2 separate regions of the Homo sapiens genome follow, and region 1 is linked to region 2. Evidence: promoter capture Hi-C in 16 types of primary human blood cells and fetal thymus (Javierre and others, 2016). All regions are on one chromosome and are shown on one strand. The core of a region is centred on a gene start or on the middle of the fragment in contact, and the rest is flanking DNA. Distances in the headings are between cores, read along the strand shown. Region 1 overlaps SLC25A12 (solute carrier family 25 member 12). Region 2 holds the start of METAP1D (methionyl aminopeptidase type 1D, mitochondrial).

Region 1 (7,027 bases), core at 3,864-6,363, 200 kb before region 2:
CCCACTGCCTCTCATACAAGTGTCCTGATTCTTTTCTTTTTGTTTGATTTTCTGCTCCACAGACTACCCTGCTGGACAAGATTGCTTTTCAACTTGGAGGGAAGAAGTCTGGTTTCCACATTCTTTCATATTTTATTGAGTACATTATAACCTAAACCTACCCACCTTATACAGACCAAAAATTCCCAAGTCCCGGAGCACATTCAGGGCGCTGACTCTGGGTCCCGTGGTGATCTCTCCAGCTACTTGCAGACGAATCTTCACTATCTCCAATGGGTTGGTAAAAATGACCTGAGAGCCTCCAGCCTGTAGGCAAGGGAGAAGAGACAGGCAGATTCCACATCAGAGCCCGACTGGCAGCGTAAAAAAGGAAAATCCAGCAAAGCCTCCACATCTTGCTATCTTGAAAAGAAGGAGGTGAAACTTCCTTCCTCAGGGGGGAATGACAGTTTGACACTTAGGCCAACCCTGGAGAGGTTCAGAGGGATGGTCCCAAACTCTGTCTCAGATCAATCTACCTCTGGGTTTGTTTCTAGCTGAAATGTCAAGATTGTTTCTCAGACCAGTCTTTCCAGGATCACCCCAGCCATATTCAAAATAACAAAATAAACCCATTTGGAAAAAAAAGCGGAGCCAGATGTGGCAGCAAGGTACTCAATGAAAGAAAAAGAGATAGTAAAAGACTGTCATATTTTACAAGCCAGAGCTAAAATTCAGAGCTACAATTATTTTTTTCCTCTTTGTGGTAAGCGTTCTTGGCAGCAGACCCACTTGCTTCTGCTTCCTTGGATTGTAGAGCAATTAAAACTACTTTGGTGCCTTAAGTCAGAAGGGGAAAAGTCTCCTCCAGTTCCAATTCTAAAATGTATTATCCTAAGCAAAACTCTGATACAGGTACATGGCTACACCCACACAAAAGGGAAGAATTTAGAAAGATAAATTTCAGTATCATTTCAAGACAAAACCAGAAAAACTCTTCAAGGCAAAGCTGAGAAATGGAACATCTAGTTACCATGAGTACAACACCCTCAAGATCAAAGCCACATTCTATATTCCTGTGGTGAGTGACAGAGATTTGAATTTGGATAATGAGAGTATATTTGCATCTGAAATCTGTTAACTAGTAGAGAAAAAAAAAAAACGTTTAACAAAACTTCTACCAACTTCTTTTTTTTGGTTTCTGTAAGAAAGAAAAAAATGTGTGTGACTATGGATATATAAAAATAAATAAAATATATATCTCCTTTCATGAAATGAAAAATCCCATTTGTACATCTTCAACTGTAGCTGTTTATATTATGTAATCATAACCATACTCATATAATATTCATAATGATATTCATATCATTATAATCATTGTATATAATCACATGTGAAATATGAAATCTGGGGCACTGTAATTCCACAGGTATAGAACACCTAAAAATTCACATGCAGCTTTCAATGGCACTTCAGTGCTCAACCTTTGCCCACATTCCTGCTCACTTATCTAAAACCCAAAGCCCTCCCAGACCCGCTTCCAAGGGGCAGGAACATGGCTCAGCCCATTTTCCTAATTGCCTTGGGACTATAAATCCCCCAACTACCCCTATTCCAATCCTGACTCCTTAACTCCTTTCAATATTCAAAATTGCCAGCACTGATACTAAATTCCTTCCCTCTTCATGGACAGCTTATTGTCCTGGATTCCCCAGGGCCTTAATCCCCTCTTTGTCCTTCGAGCAGGGAGGTGCAGCAATTTGCTATCTCTCTCTCATGGTTTCCTCTAACTCCTCAACTCGACACAATCCAGACCACTGGCACACAGGTCCCCCAACGATGTACTGACCCAATTTTACATGTTGATTTGCCTGCCTTTCTCTCTCTTTGAATCTGTTGTACTGCAGGCAGAAGGAAGCACTTTAATGTTTCAATCTAAGCAAACAATACTTTCAAAAGGATTGCTGCATGAAAAATTATGTTAAAATGATAATCCAAGTAATTGCTCCTGTAGCTAGTATTAAAGACCAAATCAATTGAAAAAGTTTACTACTTCCCTGAAATCTCTTGTTTAAATAATGGTTGCAAAGACTATCTTAAATAATGGTTGCATATCTGCTTTATGTTTTAACTAAAGCAGATTTAAAAATGAATAGAACCACAAATTTTTATTCTAATTCCCCCAAATTTGCCACTACCAGACAGTGTCAGTCCCTGGGTGCCAAGTGTTAAATGTGGACATTATGTTTAAATAAATACTAAGGTCTTTCATGTTTGTAATCATTAGTAAATTATAACATCCTGCTGGGCAGGAGTACTCCAATCCGTGTCCCCCACCCCCACCCCACAGCTGCCTCCTCCTCTTCCTTCTCTCTTTTAGAAATAATTGATTGAGATTTATACTCCTTTAACAATGCTTCAAATTTTTTGAAGTATACAAGTAATAGGCTTTCTACTGAAACTTTACAAAAATGGTACAATAAAAAGAAATAACTGACTACATTTTGTTTGTGTTTGTTTGTTTGAGACAGGGCCTCACTCTGTCACCCAGGCTGGAGTGCAGTGGCAGGAACAGCTCACTGCAACCTCAACCTCCCCAGGTTCAGGTGATCCTCCCACCTCAGCTTCCCGAGTAGCTGGGACTACAAGCGTGCACCACCACGCCCAGCTAATTTTTGTATTTTTTGTAGAGATGGGGGTCTTACCATGTTGCCCAGGCTGATCTCGAACTGCTAGGCTCAAGCGATCCACTCGCCTTGGCCTTCCAAAATGCTAAGATTACAGGCGTGAGCCACTGCACCCAGCTGGGACTACATTTTAAAAATACATACACCTTAATTGTTGTATGCTTTGAAGATTAGTTACCTAGCACACATACCAAATCCCAACAACGCACAGGACATAACCACAAAACTCAATTGATGTGCATTTATAAACACATATAATCTAGCAAGTAAGAGTGCAAATAATCAATGACACTATAGCAAGGCACACATCTGTAAGTTTGTTTCATGCCTATGTTTGAAGGAGGAAAACTTCTGACAATTAATGATTTGTATATGTTTTAAAAATTAACATACAAGCCAAGTGCAATGACACATGCCTGTAGTCCCAGCTGCTCACAAGACTGAGGCAGGAGGATTACTTGAGCCCAGGAGTTCAAGGCCAGCCTGGGCAATGGAGCAAGACCCCTATCTCTTAAAATTTTTTTTTTTTTAGTAATTAGTATACATTTTTAAAACCTCATGATAGGCCTAGGAACATAAGGCAAATACTTTCCAGAAACGCTGAATAATTTTAGCAAAGATAAAGACTGCAAAAACCGCAGTTACTTTTGTACCAACGTAATAATTTGTCTAAAACTCTGGATGTTTATAATGCTTAAAGGGAAACACACATGGCAAATATGCACTGTTCTTTTTCGGATTCTGAGGTTGACCACTCTCTCTATCCTACATATTAAACTGGGGATAGGGAAGGGGGAGTAAAATCTGAGATTAGTTCAATTATACTGGTAATAAATCAAGCAACTCAGAATGAGGGACTATGATGTTATCAAACTCTTGAACTGGGTGTTTCCTCTCTGCGAAACAAATACAGAGAAATACCATATTTCTTCTAAGACTCTATTGATTATAAATGATATCATTAATAACAGCTTTCCAAAGGGGAAAAGCACTGCTTGCAGTAAATATAATCTTTAATATAGAGAATTTCATAAATACAGTAACTTTTCAATAAAAAATAGTACCTGTATTTCTACAAATATGCTAATGTTTGCTATTTTTAATAGCAGCAAAATTGAACAGGAAGAAATTCAAATTCCCAATAAAACAGCTAAGTAGATACAATTCTATGCTATTAATTGGGCAATATGATTTGATAATAAAATCACGCCAAATGACAAAAACAGAACATAAAATATTAGGCACACATTTGATCATAAATATGTCAAAATTTACCTAAGTTTCTCAAAACCCAAGTGGCTTAAAGATTAAAACATTGATTGCCTCCTGGAAAGAGAAACTGAATAGCTGGGAGAAATAATTTTCATAGCATACTCTATTGTACCTTTTAAATTTCAAAACATATGAATGTATTAACTACGCAACAACAACAAGAAACAGACCTGGTCTTAGAAACAATGGCTTCTTTATAGACTAAGTCTTCTCTCGCATATTCTTCTTCATGGTAAATTTGGTAATTTGGCAAATATATTTTTTAAACTGGTTGGCGTTAGTTACTGTGGACCCAAGGTTTTTTAAAAAGCTTATTATATATGAACATCAAAAAACCTAATCAAATATAGCTAGTGACCTGAAATAATCGACACTAAGATATATAAAATTTTAAATTAAATCACAATGATACACAGCTATATAAATGTAAATGGACATTGCTAAATTTGGCATCTTGCTGCTTCTGTTACTAATGCTTACATTAGATAACATACCACTCTATATCATACCTTTGCTGAATTTTTTTCACTCATGAAATCACCAAAATTAGCTTCTAATTCTCTAATTGCTTAAATTTCCCGCCTATTTTTTAAAAGAGATACAAACATTAATACTAAAACAGACTTAGATGCTTTCTATTTTTCAGTATTCTGTTGTCATTTCTTTGTTCTAGAACTGAGTTTAAAAGATACATAAAAGAGAACAAATCTCATTTTGAATGAGGGTTACCCATATATAACAGAAATGGAAAGAATAAAAAACTTCCATTTAATCTTATATCATATGAATTTTTTAATGAGAAAATCAACTAAAGCTGACAGCAAAAGTTAGCGGGGAAAAGGATGTAATTTTGAGATGTCACCATGCCTCCACAGTGCCAAAGGCCGAGGGGCTGTATACAGGATTAGGCCTATTCAACCTTCTGCCCTCTCAATCCTACCCCTGGGGCAAGGTTCACAAAGAGGTTGGAGGCTGGGCCCTGCTTGTGCCAAGTCCTTTGTTTATTTCCTTCTTTGATCTGTTGTCTCCTATAGATTGAAATGATTTCCCTCCAACCACAAAATATCCAATCTAAGCAACTCATTATAAAGTCTTCCCTTATCGAGACTGATGAAAATCTAACTTCAATTTATTTAAGGTCACATCAACTCCAGATGAACACAGTATGTGCGTATAAAATAACCAGATAAACAGTAAAAGTCACAGAACTAGCTGTCACTAGGACTGACTCAAGAGGAACAGGAACAGACAGTGACTCAGCCTTGCACACCACCAACCGTTCATATTTTTGTAAAGCAATAGGAAATGCTATGGTTCTTTCTAAAATAGGATAGTGATAGTTTAAAAGAAATAAATGCAATGTGCTCATTGCTGAGTGATGATATATGCGAGGGTGTTACAAATTAACACTACATATACTCCTAACTAGGGTAAGGGAAGTGCTATGATCCGAATATTGGTGTTTCCCCACAATGCATATGTTGGAACTAATATCCAACATTATAGTATTAAGAAGTAGGGCCTTTTGGGAGGTGATTAAGTCATGATGGTTCTGCCCTAGTGAATGGGATTAGTGCCCTTATAAATGAGGTTGAAGGGAGCTGCCTTGTCTCTCCTACCATGCAAGCACACAGCAGCAAGGTACATGCAAGCACACAGCAGCAAGGTACATGCAAGCACACAGCAGCAAGGTGCCATCTTGGAAGCAGAGAGCAAGCCCTCCCTCACCAGACACTGAATCTGCTGGTACCTTGATCTTGAACTTCCAGCCTCCAGAATTGTGAGCAATAAATTTCTGTTGTTTATAAATTACTCCATCGAAGGTATTTTTTAATAGCAGCCAAAATGAACTAAGACAGCAAGAATGAAAATCCCTGTGTACCTATCATAAGCCACTTTTGACATAAATATATAAGGATTTTCAACTTGTATGCATATCTATATGTGTTCACATAAGTATGTAGGCATAAAGTTGGACTACACTAATTCCTGGGGATGAGAGGTGGAAGAGCTGTTTCCAAACTACTCTTTAGAGATATACAAGCTTGGCTTGCTGAGGAAGACATAGAATTCTTCATCATAAGGAGCTGGCTAGTTACAGATCTTGGCCCCCAGGATTAGTAAATGCTCCGCCTAACATGTGGGCTTTTTGCTTTACCGATATGAAGGGAGGGTGTGTGTATGTGGTGTGTGTAGACACATGCTTAAGCTGAGAAAAAGCATGGGAGAGTTGAAAGATTCTAGGTTTGGAAGACTACTGACCTAGATCGTCATAGATTTTGCATTCGGCATAACCATTCCATTCCCACAACCATGCTCTCTGCCTCACCGAGGTCTTGTGCACTACTAACTCATTTGAGAGCACTATGCAGACTGAAAGCAAGACACAAAGGGAAAGAACGTGTTCTCCAGAAAGTGTGTTCGCATAGGGTTGTGAAAATTCACCTGCAACATTAGCACTTTGCTGAGTAATAAGTTTTGAGTTTCATGACTTCCATCCACTCAGGAGTATATACTCTCTGAAAGAGGTAATGCAGTCAGCTAGGTAAGTTTATCACTAATCTCTGATTCGAGTTTAACAATTAAAAAAGAACAGGTACTTACCAAAGAGACCATTAGAAAGTACCTAAAGGTTAGTCCATTTAGATTTTTTAATATTCTGCTTTGTTAATTTGAAAAGATATTTAAATTTATTCTCCCTTAAGTTTCTGGATCTATCCAAAAAACTACATAATTACTTTTTCTTTAAAAACTACTATAAACATCATTAATAAAAGTAATAAACAAGTCACAAACTGGCAAAAAAATATCCACAACACATCTGTTTGACAAAGGGCTGTATCCATGATGTATAAACAACTTTTACAATTAGTAAAAAATATGAAACCTAATAAAATGTACGCAAAAGACTTGAACAGATACTTCACACACACACACACACACACACACATATACGAATAGCCAATAAACACATGAAAAGATAATCAACATCTTTAGGAATCAGAAGAATGCAAATTTAAACCACAATAAGATACTATTTCACATACCTACAATGATTACTATCAAAAACACTACAGATATCAAACATT
Region 2 (6,549 bases), core at 2,743-5,242:
TGGCAAAACAAAGAGGCAGGGTCAGGAAGGGAGAATGAGGCCCCTGGGTCTAGATGACAACTGCGCTGAAGCTGTGTGGTCCCGGGGTACCAGTTTCCCCCAGCAGCCACATTATATCAGTTAATCTTACAACGTATTCACATAAAACAGCTTTTTATTAGAGATATGTAAGCACCTTGGCCCCTATTTCATGGTTTGTGCTCTTTCTTTTCTTTCCTTCCTTCCTTCTTTCTTTCCTTCCTTCTTTCCTTCCCTTCCTTCCTTCTTTCCTTCTTTCCTTCTTTCCTTCCTTCCTTCCTTGCTTCCTTCCTTCCTTCCTCCCTCCCTCCCTCTCTCTCTCTTTCTTTCTTTCTTTTGACAGAGTCTCCCTCTGTCGCTCAGGATGGACTGCAGTGACACCATCCTGGCCCACTGCAACCTCCGCCTCCAGGGTTTAAGCTATTCTCCTTGCCTCAGTCTCCCGAATAGCTAGGATTACAAGTGCCCGCCCCATACCCGGCTAATTTTTGCATCTTTTAGTAGAGATGGGGTTTCGCCATGTTGGCCAGGCTGATCTTGAACTCCTGACCTCAGGTGATCTGCCCGCCTCGGCCTCTCAAAATGCTGGGATTACAGGCATAAGCCACCACACCCAGCCTGTGTTTTCAAATATCTTATAGTAATCCTAATATATATATATATAAATCTAAACTTGTGAGACAAATTACAAGATGATGTTATTTACTATAAGACAAACATTTTTAAAAAATTATTTACTTCATGTCACATAATCCCTTAGAGCATTTAAAAATGCAAATATTCAATTAAAAATTCAATACATACATTACAGAACCTGCATAATTTAACTTTTATTACAAACTACAAATTTAGACACACTCATGGTATAAGTCTATAATATTAAGTTCAAGAAGGAGGAAGGAAAAATGGGTTTTTCAAAAATATGCATATTGGAATTTATTTGATTTATATCTTTTATAAATAAAAAGATTTTAAAAGATGTGAATAAGACATGATCTTTTGAAAATCAAGGTAAAGACCTATAAAATAATAATCACAATCAAAATATTTTAACATTCAAGAATGAATTTTTGGACATAAACTGAAGGTATTAAGTTATCCTTTATTTCTTGAACCCTGGTTTTCAAAAGTTATTCAACTTTTTTTTTTTGAGACAGAGTCTTGCTCTGTTGCCCAGGCTACAGTGCAGTGGCACAATCACAGCTCACTGCAGCCTCAAACTCCGGGGCTCAAGCGCTCCTCCTGCCTCAGCCTCCCAAGTAGCTGGGACTATATGCATGTGCCACCACATCTAGCTAGTTTGTAAATTTTTTGTAGACACGGGGTCTCACTATGTTGCCCAGCTGGGTCTCCAACTCCTGGGCTCAAGCAATCCTCCTGCCTTGGCTTCCCAAAGTGTTGGAATTACAGGTGTGAGCCACTGCACCCGGCCGAATTATTCAATTTTTTATTCAAGAATCCTAAGTACAAAATCTGACTAATGGTAAGAATTCAAATCAGTGAAGTGCCATAATATAATTAACCTTCATTTCACAGATAGGAGCACGGACAGAAATGGAGTAGAGAAGTGACTCAGTAGCGGTTACTCATCTAAATAAAAGCACTCTAATGCTCAAGATCACAGAATGTTAAAATTGCAAGGGATCCTAGATATCAGTGATCTAGCCCTTTATCTTGTTGGTCACTATGTATATATCCCTTTTTTTTTTTTTTTTGAGAGAATCTTCCTCTGTGGCACAGGCTGGAGTGCAGTGGCAGGATCTCGGCTCACTGTAAACTCTGCCTCCCAGGTTCAAGTGATTCTCCCGCCTTAGCCTCTGAGTAGCTGGGATTGCAGGCATGCACCACCATGCCTGGCTAATTTTTGTATTTTTAGTAGAGACAGGTTTCACCATGTTGCCCAAGCTGGTCTCGAATTCCTGACCTCAAGTGATCTGCCTGCGTTCGCCTCCCAAAGTGCTGGGATTACAGGCATGAGCCACCACACCCAGCTTATATCCCATAAGTTGATGGTTTTGGCGGACATGTGCTGGCAGCTTTTAACCCTTCTGCGGTGAGAAGGATGTGTATGAGAGAAGCCAGATCCAGGGTCAGTGGATGAGCTATCACCTGTGCAAGTTCATATTTGCTTCATTTCTAGCTCATCCCAGATATCTACATTCCATGCCGAACTTATTGAGGATTTCCTCACTGGATTCCACTACTGCTGGTGCCACCTGGGTCCTCATAGTGTTTCCTTTTCCTTTTAGTTGTAGGGGAATAAAGCATTCATTTATTTTCCAAGGGTTGGCTGAGTTAAGTCACATGAACATGTGTTCTATTTCAGATGGGTTTGAAACTAGGCTTGATGCCTTAAGGAATAGGGATGTCTAGATTTCTTTTTTCTGTACACTGCTTAAGACTCTGTGGCCAGCTAACTCTCAGGCTCCTTTGCTGCACTCAGATTGCTGGCCTCAGTTACACAGAGGACAGATTTGCCACATTCAAAAATGCTCTCCCTGGAATTGAAATGAGTTTGCAAAAGGTAGGAGTACATTTTATTCTCATTCTTGTGCATCTTATTTACCCTGATGGAAAGCATTACTTCTCTTTATCTTTCAAGGTGACCCAAAAGCATCCAAAACCAGGTTTTCCAGAATTATAGCATGTGTCCTCTAATGAAATGCCAACATTCACTCTCTTTAAAAGTAAAAATATCAAGATTATATAGTCATTAAAAAGAATAAGTCTGAACTAAGTGTTCTAAGATTTGATGCCTATGATGACTGGAATGGAAAAAGCAAGTCATATGATTCTATTTAAAATACTTACATTTGCCTGTGTGTAAAAGGCAAAGATCTCAATTGAGCACACGGTGGTTAACTGGGGAGTGGGACTATGGTATGTACAGAGGGCGAGGAAGGGGCTTGCACTTGTTCCTTATTTCTGAATTGTTCTGAATTGTCTAGATTATTCACTGAGTGTGTAGTGCTTAAAAATTAATTAGAAGACATCACACACATTCACTGAGAATCCTAATCAATCTTCACTGCATTTAAAGTCTGGAAACGGTTACATTCTCAGTTTGACTGGTTTCATGCAGTGTTCAATTGCTTCACCTGACATTCCTCGGGTATCGGGTTCTGTGCCGGGCACGGAGGCTACTAAGATGAATAACACCTGGTCCATGACAGGATGGCATCTACCCCAGAACACAGGTAAGAGAGACAGTGAATTTGGTAAAAATGGGCACCGTCATCAGTAGGCATACATCAGCTCCCTCATCTGATTCACAATTGGCCTTCTGTAGGCTTCTTCTCTTGGCAATGCAATTGGCAGGCGTCATCCTTTTATACTTAAACTCCAAATTTAGGATTAAGACTCCAGTTAATACTGCCAAGCAGAAGGCGTCCTTGGAGAAAGAGAAGTCTCCTGAACATACCCACTGGGGTACCTAGAATAGATTTTGCAGCGACACACAGATCCTGTGTTGTCTGGAGTCTCTGCTGAGTAATGTAGATTCTGGGACAGCAAAAGGGGAGCTGGTGACTTTGAACCAAATTTTACCTTTCAACTGAATCCAGGGGAATAATTTGCAACAGAGTGGCAGACGATACAAAGTGCTATGTTGAACACTAGATTGTGCTTTATTTTTTCCGCCCAACTTCACGTTTCCATGCACCAAAATGTTGATGCTATAAATATTGGATGCCACGCTTACCTGACAGGCTTCTTCCATCCCACCTGGGCGCGGGGGCTCAGAGCGAGCGCGCGAGCCGCGGCTGGAGCCCGCCTCTCGCGGCTGGAGAGGACTCAGCCGGCCGCGGGTTCTGCTGCTTGCCCGGGTGCCCTAGCCGCTTCCCAGCCAGGGCTCCCGCAGTCAGCCCCGCGCGCGCACGCGCGCTCCCCTCGGGCGGCCTCGACGCCTCAGGGCTTCGGCAGGGCTGCGACTGGCCGGCTCCAGCGGGCGGGGCGGCGAGCGAGTGCTCGCGGCCACGTGACCGACGCCAACATGGCGGCGCCCAGTGGCGTCCACCTGCTCGTCCGCAGAGGTAAGCGCGTGGAGGAGAGCCCCGTGAGGGTTCGCACGGTTGCTCACTAGGTACGCACCCGGGTCCAAAGGGATGCGCACCCGCGCTCAGACTTCTCGGCGCACACGACTGTACTTTCAGTGTTTACGAACACACGCAGGCACACACGATGACACATTCACACACCACAGGATCACACATACAAATTTGTTCACTGATCACCCGCCTAGAACACGTCACCACGTGGCATCTTTTCGCAATTACTCCTTGAGATTTGCGGGCCATTGTCTGAAGTTTTTTTCCCCAACTTCGGTTGTATCATTAGTGTAACCAACATTTATTCTGTATGCCGAGCAAGGAAACCTATGGTAATTCTGAAATGCATCTGGACACCCGGTTCCCTTCCCTAGAGCTTTTATGCAGGCATGCTTTTTGGGGACTTGCAAAATGTGATGGTTTTCTTCCAGTGACTTAAAGTTAAGAAGATAAGAAAGGATGTCTGGGTAGTTCTAAGTAGGTTTTATCCTGCGTGAGTGTTGAGATTTTAGTAAATATACAAATGCCTTTGCAGCAGAATTGGGGAAATCTTTGTTGGATTTGAACTAGGTGCTGAATCTTTGTTGGAAAGAACTAGAAAGTTTTTCCAAGGACGGGGGAAGAGGAAAACTATCATATTTTGAGGAGCTACTTAAGCGTCAGGCATGTAGGAACAGTTTTGTGAGGTAAATATTATTTTCATAGTAACAGCTACTGTTTATTAAGTGCCTTTTAAGTACACGATACTGTGTTAAGCGCCTTACATATGCTTGCTTCCTTTTAAAACTCAATGAATGAGACCCCGTCTCTACAAAAAATTTTAAAAATTAGTCGGGCGTGGTGACACATGCCTGTAGTCTCAGCTATTCTGGGGGTTGAGGTGGTAGGATCGCTTGAGCCTGGGAGGTCAAGAGGCTGCAGTGAGCCGTGATCGTACCACTGAACTCCAGACTTGGCAATAGAGCCAGACCCTGTCTCAAAAACAAAAACAAAAACCCAGTGAGTTAGGAATTATTTTCTCTTTGCAGAAGGGAAAAGTAAGGCTAGAGAGGTTAAGTAACATTACTAAGGTCGCATAAATGGTAAGAGGCAGATTGCTCATTTGAACATGACTCTAATTTTTTTTTTTAAGACTCATTTCTCGGTACTGCATGACGTGGTCACTCCATAGAAGTCAGTGTGTAAAGTTCAGCAGAGACAGTGCAGGATGAGTGTGTACAAAAAGTGAAGAGAGCCTGGGCACGGTGGCTCACACCTGTAAACCCAGCACTTTGGGAGGCCGAGGCAGGTGGCTCACTTGAGGTCAGAAGTTCAAGACCAGCCTGGCCAACATGGTGAAACCCCGTCTCTACTAATATACACAATTAGCTGGGCGTGGTGGCGCATGCCTGTAATCCCAGCTACTCGGGAGACTGAGGTAGGAAAATTGCTTTAACCCAGGAGGTGGAGGTTGCAGTGAGCTGAGATCATACCACTACACTCTAGCCTGGGCGACAGAGCGAGACTCCGTCTCAGAAAAAAAAAATAAATAAAAATAATAAAAAATAAGAAGTGAAGAGGAAGATATTTTTAGAGAGGAAGAAGGTTGGTAATCGAATAGACTTCAGTATTTCAGTGTTAGTGGAGATGAGAAAGGGGCCACAGGAAGATTTGAGGGGAGAGATGTGTATGGGGAAGGTGATGTAGCGAGCATTTTGGACTGGTTGCATGAAGGAATGGACATCAGCATGAGAGTGTAGCCTTGTGAAAAGACAGCCAATTTACATCTCTCAAGATCTGGGTGCCAGGCCTGGCAAGGTGGCTAATGCCTGTAATATTACCCAGCACTTTGGGAGGCCAAGGCGGGCAGATCACTTGAGGCCAGGAGTTCAAGACCAGCCTGGCCAACATGGTGAAACCTGTCTCTACTAAAAATACAAAAATTAGCCAGGTGTGGTGGCACATGCTGGTAATCCCAGCTACTTGGGAGGTGGAGGTGGGAGGGATCGCCTGAACCCAGGAGGCGGAGGTTGTAGTGAGCTGAAAAAAAAAAAAAAAAGATCTGGGTTCCAGTCCAAACTTTCTTTACTAATTACTTTTCTGTTTCCTCTTTTCACAAGAAATCATGGCTTTTAGACTTCATTTTTGTATGCTTCAGGTAATGGTGAGAAGGATCTGAGGAGATAGTCAATGTAGAGGAGGAGCCAAAAAAAAAACAACCTGAAAACATACATAGGTGTATGTATGTATATATATATACACCTATGCATGTATAAACGTATTTTTATATGTGTGTATATATGTATTAGGTTGGTACAAAAGTAATTGCAGTTTTAGAATCAATGACAAAAACTGTGATTACTTTGCACCAACTGTATATATAACATCTCTTTGCAGATAACAGAAATAGCATTAATCTTTTCTTTCTTTTTGATCACTTATTATTTTGACAAATGGTGGTTTAGACAGTCTTGAGAAAATATATTATATGGAAGTCAGGCCAAGT

What was found. The method cuts DNA at HindIII sites, captures the fragments that hold promoters and counts their contacts. A CHiCAGO score of 5 or more calls a contact.
Region 1: a fragment that was not itself captured here is called in contact with the fragment with the promoter of METAP1D in region 2 in 2 of 17 cell types (neutrophils and monocytes); the score reaches 5.7 in neutrophils.

What each region holds. Positions count from the first base shown.
Region 1 is chr2:171,793,462-171,800,488 of GRCh38, forward strand. SLC25A12 (solute carrier family 25 member 12) reads right to left here. Exons shown (of 18, transcript NM_003705.5): 14 at 166-306. Among named protein-coding and RNA genes, the nearest start is that of SLC25A12, 97 kb to the right of the region's middle. RefSeq lists an enhancer at 4,698-5,228. The HindIII fragment of the contact is 1,734 bases long and covers 4,247-5,980 here.
Region 2 is chr2:171,995,961-172,002,509 of GRCh38, forward strand. METAP1D (methionyl aminopeptidase type 1D, mitochondrial) reads left to right here and starts at 3,993. Exons shown (of 10, transcript NM_199227.3): 1 at 3,993-4,049. The coding sequence starts at 4,010. LOC124905590 (a long non-coding RNA gene) reads right to left here and starts at 3,949. Exons shown (of 3, transcript XR_007087296.1): 1 at 3,719-3,949. RefSeq lists a silencer at 3,688-3,987. The HindIII fragment of the contact is 8,153 bases long and covers 1-6,549 here.